Regions from separate parts of the Homo sapiens genome. Here region 1 is linked to region 2. Evidence: promoter capture Hi-C in 16 types of primary human blood cells and fetal thymus (Javierre and others, 2016). All regions are on one chromosome and are shown on one strand. Each heading gives the region's core, a stretch centred on a gene start or on the middle of the fragment in contact. The rest is flanking DNA. Distances are from core to core; before and after follow the strand shown.

The links. Contacts are between HindIII fragments. The CHiCAGO score rates a contact against its expected background, and 5 or more counts as called.
Region 1: a fragment that was not itself captured here is called in contact with the fragment with the promoter of ABRAXAS2 in region 2 in 2 of 17 cell types (total CD4 T cells and naive CD4 T cells); the score reaches 7.0 in total CD4 T cells.

Annotation. Positions count from the first base shown.
Region 1 is chr10:122,977,858-122,985,448 of GRCh38, reverse strand. PSTK (phosphoseryl-tRNA kinase) reads right to left here and starts at 5,048. Exons shown (of 6, transcript NM_001363531.2): 1 at 4,754-5,048; 2 at 2,425-2,716; 3 at 1,979-2,177. The coding sequence starts at 4,969. RefSeq lists an enhancer at 4,717-5,036. The HindIII fragment of the contact is 1,280 bases long and covers 2,921-4,200 here.
Region 2 is chr10:124,796,869-124,803,342 of GRCh38, reverse strand. ABRAXAS2 (abraxas 2, BRISC complex subunit) reads right to left here and starts at 1,524. Exons shown (of 9, transcript NM_032182.4): 1 at 1,442-1,524. The coding sequence starts at 1,513. RefSeq lists a silencer at 1,249-1,328 and enhancers at 817-1,370, 1,429-1,698, 1,371-1,925. The HindIII fragment of the contact is 5,454 bases long and covers 1-2,080 here.

The DNA of each region.
Region 1 (7,591 bases), core at 2,311-4,810, 1.8 Mb after region 2:
TGCCAAGGCTGATAATGTAATAGAGACAGATAAACAGTTAAATAAAGCAAAAAATAATTTCAGATGGTGGTAAGTAGATAAGTGAGCAAAGACAATAAAGTGACAATGATAAGAGTGACAGGGTAGCCCAACTAATGTTCTTTGCTTTAGTTAGGATGGTCAGTGAAGGCAGTCAAGTATAAGAATGTGGGAAGGGCAGAGGGGCAGCAAGTACAAGGGCCCCAGGGCAAGAACATGCTCCTTGTGTTCGTGCAAGAGAAAGGCTGAAAAGAAGCCAGGAGGAGAGTGGCAGAATATGAAGTTGGAGAATTAATCTGGGTTAGATCACCTAAGTTAGGGTAAGGAGTTTGAATTTTACTCAGATTATGGGAGTGGCACTAAAAAGTTTTAAGCGAGTGAGCTCATCAAGTTAAAGCTCAACCTCAAGATGATCTTCCTCACACTGAAAAGAGCCCAGGTTCTGGAGTGAGTGCGATCTCACTGGGTCCAGATCTTGGCTCTGCCACTTCCTACCTGGGTATATTACTTTACTTATCTGGGCCTCAGTTATCCCATCTATAAAATGGGGATAGTAGTTTCTACCCTTAAAGGGTGGTTGTGAGGACTGAATGAGACCATATATATAAAGTGTTCAGAACTGGGAGAGAATTTGAGTTTTAGTGACTATTCAGCCAGTGATCACTAGCTAATTTTCATACCCATGCCCTTTTGTTCTATTTAGTCTGTTTGTTTAGAGACAGGGTTTCACTGTCACCCAGGCTGGAGTGCAGTGGCATTATCATAGCTCAACTGCAACCTCAAACTCTTGGGTTCAAGTGATCCTCCCTTCTTGGCCTCCCAAGTGCTGGGATCACAGGTGTGAGCCACTGCACCCAGTTTGTTTACAGTCTTAAAAGAGGTAAAGCATAGCAAATATTTTTTTAAGGGAACTATAACCTTAAGATAAGATTCCTAAAAAGAATTTCAAAAGGAATTATAGACACTGTTCCCAATGTAACCCAAAATTTAAGAAAATATTAGCCGGGGGTGATAGCTCATGCTCGTAATCCCAGCAATTTGGGAGGTCAAGTTGGAAGAATTGCTTGAGGCCACGAGTTTCAGACCAGCCTGGGCAACATAGTGAGACCCTGTCACTACAACAAATTAAAAAATTAGCTGGGCTTGGCAGTGTGGGCCTGTAGTTCCAGTTACTTAGGGGACTGAGACAGGAGAACTGCTTGAGCCCAGGAGGTCAAGCCTGCAGTGAGCTGATACCGATCCCTCGTGGACAATATGCAGGAACTAAGGAAGTGTGGGCAATATACCTCTGGAACTGCGCTGTCCAATAAATAGCCACTGGCCACATGAGGCTACTTAAGTTTAAATCAATAAGTTAAACAAAAAAATTCAGGTCATCAGTTACACTAGCTACTTTTAAGGGCTCAATAGTCAAATGTGGCTAGCAGCTACCATATTAGTGCAAATATAGAACATTTCCATCGCCAGCGAAGTTTCTGCTAGAAATATGCTGCTCTAGAACTCTCAAGACATACGTAATGAATGAAATGCATTAGACAGCATAGCCTACAAGCCTCACATATGCAAAAGCAGTGTAACTATGGTGAGCTCTAAGGCAAATAGGACCCAGTACCTGTTGCACTCTTTCACAGATCTCTTTCTATAAGAAAACTACCAGGCAACCTATTTAGACTATCTATTTTAGCAAGAGAATCAAAGATGTGTTCTCTGAATTCCCTGCTCCAACTACTGGAAGACAGTATAATCGTAACAGTTATGAGCAGACATTTGCAAATAAACTTGGGTTCAAATCTTTCTGGACAAACTAAATTTTCCCATTTCACTTTTAGCTTCCACACAAAGTGGGGAATAATGTCTCTCCAATGCCTGTGTGAGGACTAACTAAACCAACATAGACAAAGCACTGACCATGATACCTGGCACAGGGGAGCATCCAGGGAGGGATGATTGAGTGGAATACCTGGCCTCCGAAGCACATGCTGGACTCGGAATTGTGAGGCTGTTGTGTTCCCAAGCATTTTTCTCAGGGTTGGGCTTTTCTAGCTTTCTTCCCATCAGGTGGATGGTCTCAGGAGGCAGTGCCTGTGGCCTCTGGCCATTCCTCTGTAAACAGGTCTCAAGAGGACAATCTAAAAAGAGCTGGCAAAAGCCCAACGAATCTGAAAACAGTTTAAAATGATAGAATTACTGGTATACTCTTTTTCCAAAATATGAAATAAACATATATTAGACAAATTATGACAATTATAGTAGGAAAAACTCCGTTTGCAATACTGAACATCTAGCTTTTAAAATTAAGTAAATCTACATAACCTCCTAATCAAGTTAAATTCTCATTGAAGACAATAGTGTTTTTGATACGTGAATAAGTATCTCCATGTGTAAGAAAAAAAAAGTTTTAATTACATTTCCGAGCCAGCTGGTAGACTTCATATCTCATACTCTGATAATAAAAATTGTCATCCAAAACCAAAAACAAAGGTCTAGAAACAGCAGTTTTTGTTAAGAGGTAGCAAGACTGGGCCTCAAATGCTGCAGAAAATATCAGATCTTGATCCTTTAAGCAGGTTATAAAATCTTCCCACATGGCTTCAGTCCTGTTGGGTGGGACAGACATCTGACACCCATTAATGACAGCCATCAAGAAGTATTCCAGGTACTTCAACAGTTCCTGTCGAAGCAATTTCCATTGGGATGGCTACAAGAGACCAAAGAATTGCAATTCATATTAGGCCACTAGGGTGGTCAGTCATCTGGCCTCACTGCCACCCTGCCCCATATGAAAATTTCAGCTCACAATACGGAACCATCTGTAGTTCTCTAACACACCTGGTTTCACATGACTCCATATATACCATTCCTTCTGCCTGGAAAACTAATGTTACTAGTGCTGTGTAAAGCTTTCTCAGACTCAACCATGCAGAAGGCAGCTCAGCCTCTCCCTTGCCCATCATGAAACCCCATTCTATACATATATCTCCACTCTAGCAGTGCTTACACAGTTTAAGCATTTGTTTACACTTCTCTCTCTGCTAGATCACTGTCCATTGCATACTCAGCCTCCAGCAGAGGGTCGGTGCTCCAGAAATGTATATTAAATGGATGACTGACTGAATAAGTGAATAAATGAAAGAACTTATTTATCATCCAAGAGAAAGGTGGAGTCAAAATAGTCTGGCTAAGATATAATAATGCAGGTTTTCCCCTGAAATGGGAAAGGTAGTAGACAGCAAAAAGATCAGGTGAAAAGTCTCTGGGTCAAGAAGAAAAGACCTCAGGCTAACAAATGAGTTGATATGGGATGGGGAAAGATGGAGGAAACAAACTGAGGGGAATAAACAGCTTGAGAATACAAGTAATCTTGTGCTGGTCAAGGGCTGTGGAGAATCCTGACATAGTTAAGAAATCTAAGCTGGAGGGAAAACACGAGGACAGGGGAGTGAGAACTCTCACTTGCCTGCCCATGCCTTACCACCACTGAGATTACACTACATACAACAAACACATCAGCTAAACCCACTAAATTGGAAACACATATCACTTCCTAAGTGAGCAGATGAGTCCCACAGTCTTTGTCCATAGGAAAAGCGTGGAAAAAACAACATAATACAAGTGAAGGGAAAGCCAGCAAATACAACAATCCCTATCGACAACTTTCAGCTTTCTCCGAAGTGTTGAAAATACTATCATCCAGGTCAATCCTGCGCTATCCTGACACTGCACTTACTTCACAATTAACCAAGAATGAGAAAGTAGATACACCTTGCTGGAGAGCCCATGCACCAAATGTACTGTATTTTTGTATATATACTTAGAAAGTAGAGTCACATAACATTTGCATTTGATTTCTGTAAATTCATCTACATTAGGCATTAAACAACAAAAATAATAATGTTAACATTTCAGAATATTTCAAAGAGTATTTACTCAAGAGTGAGCATGAGAAACACGAATGTAATCTACTCTTCCCCCAGTGGTCTCAGTTTCCACATGCTTCTCCAAGAGGATGTATCTCACTGTGCTGAGTGTGAGATGAGGAGGGCTTAAAGAGATGTATTTGGAACATACAAGTTTTTCCGTAAATACAAACCCATTACTTCCTCTGGTGGTCAACTAAGAAACAGCCATCCTTCCCAAAGCTGGCAGAGGCAGATTTACTTTGAGATGAACAAAGATTAAGCTTCATAGGTCTGATAATGCATTTGTACAGCCTCTTTCTATCGTTCTGAGGGACCCCAGAAATTTTGTTACTTATAGTTTTTATTCCTTTTCTTAAAGAGGATTCCTCAAATTACAAAACCTGAATCCACCCGTAGCTAGACGTTCAAGTTTTAGAACTTCTTTCCCTCTCCTAAGGAGAAACTTCCTAAGGGATTTTCGACAGTGCATTTGACTATAGGGGCTTTCCACCTTGCACGCTGACTTGAGAACCTGACCCTGTCTGAAGACTCAACTGTATAGAATATACAACATATACATGCATCAAATATACAGATAAGCATCTAAAATGCATCGTTCTAACAGTTGGCTTTGTAACCACTTTCTACAGCCAACGCATTCACCCTCTGCAGTAACTATGTTAACCCAGCTCCACTTTTCTCGAACTTCACCTCCCACACCAAGCAATGGGCGCTCATGGCAAATCACCCAGGACCGCGTGGACGCGAGTGTCCCCGCCCCGCCCCGCCCCGCCCCGCCCCGCCCCGCGGCCCAGGCCCCGCCCCTCCGTGCTGACCGCCGGTCGCGCTCTTGCCCCGGCGAGAAACGCGTCGGGCATGACGTCATCATACGCGACAACACCGATGGCCCAACCCTGCTCCTGCTGCAGCCGGTGGGCGAGGGCGCGCGCGAAAGTCGATTTTCCTGCCGCGGGGAGGCCACAGAGGACGCAGAGGCCTCGTTTCCGCGGCCCGTCGCTGCCGGTTCCTCTGATGTTCTCGGCGGTCTTCATGCTGCCCGGGGAGACCGGAGGAGTCTGGGAGCGTCGTCTCCGCTCTACCGTCTGCCCTGCGCGCACGCGCAGCGTCTCCGCCGCCTACCGGCGCAGTGGAGGAACTGGCCTAGCTGGGTTTCCGTGCGGCCCCAGAGGCACCTGCTCCACCGGTGCCCTGCTTGCTCCCAGGGACCAGAGGCTGGAGAGACCGCGGCGCTGCGTTCCTAGCTCCTGGACATTCCCAAGGGGTCCCAGAGTTAGGATTGATCTTCAAATAGAATCACCCTCCCTGCCGAAAGTTGCCAGCCAGTAGGATTGGCGCCTCAGTTTTGTTAGGATGAGGTCTTTCTGCTTAGGAAAATCCCAAAAGAGACGTTGAGCCTTTCCCTCCAGCAATCTTTCGAAAATAAGTTACTGGAAATCAAAGAATAGAAGGCGAGGCTGACAGTCCGACCACCGCGCTCCTTTGCGGTTCCCAGATGTGAAGAGTGCAAGGGCAAAGTAAACATTCGTTATTGTGCCCTCACAGCACCAGTGGGCAGCAAGCGTGAAGAAATATTGTCAGGAAAGGCACATCCACAGACCTCAATTCCAGTGCATGCAGACAGAGAACAATAGGTGTTTGTGTTAAAAAGTAATACTAAGCTATGGAGAGGTACAAAACAAGTTTTTGTTTTTTGTTTGTTTTTAAGACGGAGTCTCGCTCTGTCGCCCAGGCTGGAGTGCAGTGGCGCAATCTCGGCTCACTGCAACCTCTGCAACCTCCGCCTCCTGGGTTCACGCCATTCTCCTGCCTCAGCCTCCGAGTAGCTGGGAATACAGGCGCTTGCCACCAGGCCCAGCTAACTTTTTGTATTTTTAGTGGAGACGGGGTTTCACCATGTTAGCCAGGATGGTCTCGATTTCCTGACCTTGTGATCCGCCCGCCTCGGCCTCCCAAAGATTACAGGCGCAAGCCACCGCGGCTGGCCAAGTTTTTTTTGTCTGGGGGTGTGTTGTAGAAAAATTGAATTCAGATTACAGTTTTTTGTTTTTTGAGACAGCGTCTCACTCTCTCGCCCGGACTGGAGTGCAGTGGTCCGATCTCGGCTCACCGCAACCTCCGCCTCTCAGGCTCGAGGGATTCTCCTGCCTCAGCCTCCCGAGTAGCTGGGATTACAGGCGAACACCACTACTGCCCAATTAATTTTTGTATTTTCAGTAAGAACGGGGTTTCCTCATGTTGGACAGGCTGGTCTTGAACTGACCGCAAATGATCCACCCGCCTCGGCTTCCCAAAGTGCTGGTATTACAGGCGTGAGCCACCGCGTCGGGCCTAGATTCCAGATTCTTTTATCCTTATATTTTAGGGGATAATTCCTTCTTACCTGTAAAGGGTATGTTCAAAATGTGAAGACGTAAGGACAAAATCAGTGTATACTGTGTCAAAATATGACGAGTAACCTGCTAAAGCTGATATAATTTGTATGAAGCACTTACAAATAATCTCATTTTCCTTTGGACTGAAAGTGAAGAGCAATGAGTTAAACTCTTTATTTCATGACATTTTATCATTATTGGTCCAGTATAAGGTCCCTCTCCTTAATTTGCCCCTCCCCCACTTTTTTAAGAGACAGGGTTTTGCTTTGTCACCCAAGCTGGAGTGGAACCATAGCTCATTGTAACCTCGAATTTCTAGGCTCAAGCAATCCTCCTATCTCAGCCTCCTGAGTAGCTGGGACTATAGGCATGTGCCATTGAGCCTGGCTCCACTGTCTTTTATCTCCCATCCTCCACATCCACACCCATTTAACCCCTGCAGGCAACCGGTTTTTTTTTTCTTTTTATCATAGTTATTTTTGTTTTGGTTATGTATTTTTTTTAAATAGGCTTTATTTTTTAAAGCAGTTTTAGGTTCACAGCTAAACTGAGCAGAAAGTAGAGTTCTCATATACTCCTTCCCCTCCTCATTCATAACCTCCCCCACTATCAACATCCTTCACCAGAGTGATACATTTGTTACAATCAATAATCAATGAACCTACATTGACACATCATTATCACCTAAAGGCCATAGTTTACTATTGGTGTAAAATAGTTTACTATTGGTATTGGGGTTTACTCTTGGTGTACATTCTGTAGGTTTTGGCTATGTATAATGACACATATCCATCAGTACAGAATAGTTTCACAGCCCAAACATCCTCAGAGCACAGAGCACAAACATCCTCTGTGCTCCATCTGTTTATCCTCCCTCTCCTCTAACCCCTGACACCATTGATTTTTGTGTGTGTGTCTCTGTAGTTTTGCCTTGTCCGGAATAACATACAATTATATAATTGTAATCACACAATTTTAATTTGCTTCTTTTACTTAGTAATATGCATTTAAGGCTCCTCTATGTCTTTTTATGGCTTGACAGTGCATTTCTTTTTAGCCATGAATAATATTCCAATGTCTAGAGGTACCACAGTTTAGTTTTCCACTCACCTACTGAAGGACATCTTGGTTGCTTCCAAGATTTGGCAATTATGAATAAAGCTGCTATAAACATCCATGTGCAGGTTTTTGTGTGGACGTAAATTTTCAACTCATTTGGGTAAATATCATACCAAGAAGCGTGACTGCTATATCATACAGTAAGAGTGTTTAGTTTTGTAA
Region 2 (6,474 bases), core at 275-2,774:
AAAGTTAATATAAACAGGCATGGTCATATAAAACACAGTTGCAAACTATTGGCATTGGTGAAAATTTCTATGAAGTCAAGCACCACGCCTTGCAGAGTAGATATTAAGGGATATCTCTTGAATTAATTTTTTTCAACAGGTAGCTGCTTGTTCTTACAGTAATCTTGCCATATACATAAACTGTGATATTAGTAGGCATTCAAGAAATAAAGGACCCATTTTTAATAGTCCATGGACACTAGGGGTATCACAAACCCTTACATATGGAACTATATTACATTATTAAATAGCTGGTTGTAGTACCCTAGGCCATAGTCTTCAAAGCTGCTTCTGGAAAAACCCATGATGTATATATTCCTATTCCTATCATTAAGTTCTACCATCAACACTGAAGAGATGAAAGGTACAATAATTTAATTGCATTCAATTTACTAATGGAATCACCTCCCTGTGAAATCAGTTTTTATTAATGGAAGCTAAGATTGCTGACATCAAACCAAATGCAGTTCCTCCTTCTGCAGTGTACCATTTTGCTTTGTAATGACAACCAAAAACCCCACACATAGGTTTAATGAGTTTGAATCATTCACTATTAACATCACTTAAAATAATCCCCCAATTTGGTGGCCAAATTATATACCTCCTTTAAGAGAGAAGTGATCTAGTTTCACAAAGCATTTCCAATCAGAGGCCAATGACGTTAAAAGACAATTTGTAAAATAAAGACACTGAAACAGACAGGATCTGCTCCTCCTGTGGGCTCACAGCCTATGCATTTCCCATCACTCAGTAGTGGGCCTGTCACTTCCCTATTTCACTGTGACTAGTGAAAGAACTAGTCACAAAGAACTAAACACGCAACTTCAAGGAAATACAAAATAGACCCTGCACCGAACGCTCCTGTATACATTCTCCATTTTGCATCAGGGCGAAGAAAACACACAACCGTGTCTAACAAGTATCAGTAGTGACAGCCACGGTTTCACTCGCAGCACCCCCACGACAACCTGCGAGACCGGCGGGCGGGGCTGAGTACCTCGCCTACTGGACTAAACGCCCGGCCTTTAGATTCCTTCCCGACCCCGTGCGCCCCTCTTAAGTCTAGAAGCCTGACTTTCAGGGAGGGGCAGGCGCTCGGTTTCCACCGAGCGACTCCTGACACTGCAGGAGGCCAGGTGGGACAGTTTTGCTGCACGGGAGACGGCTGTGCCGGGACGGCCGAGCGGCTGAGAGCGCGAAGCCAGGGGGCCTGTCCCAGGGGCGAAGGAGCCCCCAGAGGCAAGAGCTCACCGGGGGCGGGAGCCGCCCGGGTCACCAGCTCCTCCGGCCGGCCCTGGTGCCCAGGGGGCGAGCCGCATGAGGTCCCGGCTTGGCCGCGAGCGCCGGCCTGAGACAGAGGCTGAAAGCCCCCAGCGGGCGCGGCAGGGGGCCCGGCACCTACGTGGTCCGCGTTGCTGTTGGCGCTGTGGAAACACACAGCACTGAAGGTGTAGCCCGAAATGGACGCCGCCATGATGGAAATCTCCAGCTACCCCATCATGCCCCGCGGAGGGCACACGGCCTTCCGGACGGCCCGACCCCTTGGCATCATGGGAAGTGGAGTCTGCGGCGGGCAGCGGCCGAGGGCCCTGAGCGCTCACAGTCTTGAAGGCTGAGGAACGCCGGTTTTTGCGATCGGAAGGACCCCGGCACCGTATCCTCCGCAGGGGTGTCGCTCCCGACACGCCTCAGACAGCGGTTGATAGTTCCGCAAACAGTTCTTTCCCTTTGCAAGTGAAACCTTAGTATTAAAAGACAACATTCTAGCCGGGCGCAGTGGCTCACGCCTGTAATCCCAGCACTTTGGGAGGCCGAGGCGGGCGGATCACCTGAGGTCAGGAGTTCGAGACCAGCCTGACCAACATGGAGAAACCCTGTCTATATTGAAAATACAAAAACTAGCCGGGCGTGGTGGCACATGCCTGTAATCTCAGCTACTCGGGAGGCTGAGGGAGGGGAATGGCTTGAACCCGGGAGGCGGAGGTTGCGGTGAGTCGAGATCGTGCCATTGCACTCCAGCCTGGGCAGCAAGAGCGAAGCTTCGTCTCAAAAAAAAAAAAAAAAAAAAAAAAAAAAGGCCAACATTTAGGCTGAGCGTGGTGGCTCGCGCCTGTAATCCCAGCACTTTGGGAGGCCGAGGTGGGCGGATCACGAGGTCAGGAGTTTGAGACCATCCTGGCTTACACGGTGAAACCCCGTCTCTACTAAAAATACAAAAAATTAGCCGGACGTGGTGGCGGGCTCCTGTAGTCCCAGCTACTCAGGAGGCTGAGGCAGGAGAATGGCGTGAACCTGGAAGGCGGAGCTTGCAGTGAGCCGAGATCGCGCCACTGCACTCCAGCCTGGGTGACAGACCAAGACTCCGTCTCAAAAACAAAACAAAACAAAAAGCCAACATTTGAGGCCGGGCGCGGTGGCTCATGCCTGTAATCCCAGCACTTTGGGAGGGGGGGGCGTGTGTGGGGAGTGTTAACCTGAGGTCAGGAGTGTTATGCGCGTTTGTGTGAAGAGACCACCAAACAGGCTTTGTGTGAGCAACAAGGCTGTTTATTTCAACTGGGTGCAGGCGGGCTGAGTCCGAAAAGAGAGTCAGCAAGGGAGATAGGGGTGGGGCCGATTTATAGGATTTGGGTAGGTAGTGGAAAATTACAGTCAAAGGGGGTTGTTCTCTGGTGGGAAGGGGCGGGGGTTACAAGGTGCTCAGTCGGGGAGCTTCTAAGCCAGGAGAAGGAATTTCACAAGGTAATGTCATCAGTTAAGGCAGGAACCGGTCATTTTCACTTCTTTTGTGATTCTTCAGTTACTTCAGGCCATCTGGATGTATACGTGCAGGCCACAGGGGATATGATGGCTTAGCTTGGGCTCAGAGGCCTGACAAGGAGTTCAAGACCAGCCTGGCCAACATGGTGAGACCCTGCCCACTCCCCTCTGCCCATCTCTATTGAAAATACAAAAACTAGCCGGGCATTCTGGTGCATGCCTGTAATCTCAGCTACTCAGGAGGCTGAGGCATGAGAATCGCTTGAACCCGGGAGACAGAGATTGCAGTGAGCCGAGATTGTGCCACTGCGCTCTGGCTCTGTCTCAAAGAAAAAAAAAAGGAAAAGAAAAAAGGCAACATTTACAAGCTCAAGGATGAAAGGATGGAGGAAATTCAGGCAAATAAACAGTTTGGTATAGTAGTGACATAATTTGATAACAGATAACACAATCACTTTGGCTGCAGAGTTGAGACTGTAGCGTCTTGGGGTGGGAGGGAAGTGAAACGGTGGTTCAAGTCACCATCATCTCTCTCTCTCAGAATTTTGTATCCTCTTACTCAGGGAGTCCGAACTGGTGGCAGTTTTGCCTCCCAAAATGGCATGTGGCAATGTTTGGAAACATTATCAGATATCATAATTCGGTGTCAGGTGCCACTGGCATCTGGTGGGTGGGTAGAGGCCAGAGAAGTGGCTAAACGTCTTACAGTGCACAACAACAGGCCCACAATGAAGAATTATCATCAGTGGTGACAAGGCTGAGAAACCCAGTGTTCCTGCTTCAGCTTTTAATCCCCTCCTTGCCAAATCTATGCTCAACATAGCAAGATGGTCAACATTTAAATGTAAGAACTAAACCATGTTGCTTCTTGGCCAAACACCAAATCTTGCCAAGACCTGGCCCCTATTACTTGTCTGACTTTATTACCTGCTACTGCCCCCTTTATTTACCGAGCTTCAGCTACATTAGTCTTCTTTCTGCTTCCTGGACGTCCCTAGCTCATTCCACTTTAGGGCCTTTGTGCTTGCTGTTTTCTTTGCTTGGGATGCTCTTCTCCCAGGCAGCTGCATGGTTTACTGTTTCTGCCCTAGATGATTTGATGTGCCACCGAGACCTCCTGTCTGCCTTGCAGGATTGATTGATTGCTGCAGGTCAGCTCTCTCCTATAAGTATACCTAGTTGAAGAGAGCTTCATTGCCTAAGGCCAGTCCTCCCTTTGTGGGCATCCAGCATTCAATGCCTGGTCGGGGTAGATGAAAAAAGGGAGGGCCAGGAGGGATTTGCTGAAATTCTGTTGTAGTGGTACCTCAGTCCAACTACTTCATTCAGCCAATCCTGCTTCTTTTTCTTCTCCAACAGATGATGATTCTCAGAGTACTCCCTAATCAACTTCCTCCCTGTTCATCTCAGTGTCACACTTTGCTCCCTGGGAACCAAACCTATGACAACCTCTTTTAGGTTTTCACTCAGTGCTGCCACCCCCTCAGAGAGTCCTTCCCTGGTACCCTATCAAGGATTGCAACCTTCACCCCATGTTCTCAATAGTACTTCCCTGTTTACTTTTCCCTTTACCACTTATCATCTAGCAGCAACGCTGTGTTATTCATCTTTCCTGTCCATTGTCTTTCCCCCTCTTCGAGCATGTTCTGAACTTCACGAAGACAGGGATTCTTCTTTTTTTTAATTTTTGTTTTTAGATATAGGGTCTTGCTCTGTCACCCAATAGCTCACTGCACGTCAAACTCCTAGACTCCAGTGATTGTCCTGCCTCAGCCTCCTGAGTAGTTGGGATTACAAACAAGAGACTCCACACCTAGCAAAGACAGGGATTCCTGCTTATTTACTGTTGCATCTCCATCATCTGGAATAATGGCTGGCATGTAAATGTTGCCAGATACAAGACTGTTGAATGAACACTGCATGAAAAAGTGGGAGGGTTTTAGGGAAGATAGCTGTGTTTGATCAGCAGGGTGCTGGAGGGGGATGGAAACAGAAGCAGCTGATAAAAAGCGTAGGCTTGCTAATAAGGAGGTGCCTAGGTTTGCTCACTGAAGAAACCATTTGGGATGTAGGAGATGAGAGAGGAAAGAGGCAGATGAACTGGGAAAATTTAGGGGGTGAAGGAGAAAGAGGATGAGAAGAGGAGATGAGTGGCTACAGTGAGATTCTGGACTTTGGGGACAGAGAGATGAGAATAAAGAATTTTTAGGCTCTGACCCGGCTCGGTGGCTAACACCTGTAATCCCAGCAATTTGAGAGGTCAAGGCAGGTGGATCGCTTGAGCCCAGGAGTTCAAGACCAGCCTGGGCAACATAGTGAGACCCCCATCTCTACAGAAAAAATTAAAAAATTAGCTGGACATGGTGTTGGGCACCTGTAACTCCAGCTACTTGGGAGGCTGAGTTAGGAGGATCGCTTGAGCCCAGGAAGTCGAGGCTGCAGTGAGTTAAGTGATCATGCCACTGGGCTGGGTGCAGTGGCTCATGCCTGTAATCCCAGCACTTTGGGAGGCAGAGGCGGGCAGATCATTTGAGGTCAGGAGTTCAAGACGAGCCTGCCAACATGGTGAAATCCTGTCTCTACTAAAAAGACAAAAAAAATGAGCCAGATGTGGTGGCATGTGGCTGAAATCCCAACTAGTCAGGAGGCTGAAGTGGGAGAATTGCTTGAGCCCAGGAGGCAGAGGTTGCAGTGAGCTGAGATCATGCCACTGCACTCCAGCCTGGGTGACAGAGTGAGACCCTGTTTAAAAAAAAAAAAAAAAAAAAGATCATGCCACTGCGCTCCAGCCTGGGGGATAGAGTGAGACCTTGTCTCAAACAAACAAACAAACACACAAAAGAAAATCTTCAGCAAAACACCTATAGTGATAGAGCACACTCATGTAGTGGTTATGCTTGAAAACTTTATGATAGATTGCTTGGGTCCCAGTCTCAGCTCCAGAACTTACTTCTATGTGCCGTAGTTAGCTCATCTGCAAAATGAGGCTAATACTAGTATCTACCTCATGTGGCTATCTTTTTTTTTTTTTTTTGATGGAATCTTGCTCTGTCACCCAGGCTGGACTGCAGTGGCGCGATCTCGGCTCACTGCAACCTCTGCCTCCTGGGTTCAAGCAATTCTCTTGCCTCAGCCTCCCGAATAGCTGGGATTACAGGCACCCACCACCACGCCCGGCTAATTTTTTTGTATTTTTAGTAGAGACCGGGTTTCACTGTGTTGGCCAGGCTGGTCTCGAACTCCTGACCTCGTGATCTGCCCGCCTCAGCCTCCCAAAGTGCTGGGAATGTGGCTATCTTTAGGAGTAACTGAAATAATATATTGGATGCGCTGAAAACAGTTCTTGGCACACAGTGACAGCTGTACGATTGCTAGCCATCATTTCTATCATCATAAATTAGTTTAAAAGGTAAGAGATCTATAGGCATTGACAAAAAAGATCTCTAAGTACAATATATCACTGGAATATTGTTAAATGAAGATGTAAAATGCAAACATGCAAATAGTAATATTCCATTTATATATATATCAATACAAAGCAAAGCATTTCTGCATGAGAATGCCACACTTTGCTATGATGGGCCTGAAAGTGGGAACAAGAAAATCCAGCTTCATTTGGATTATGCCCATTTGAGGAAACTGCGACTTAAGATGTTTAAATTAAGTAACTCACTC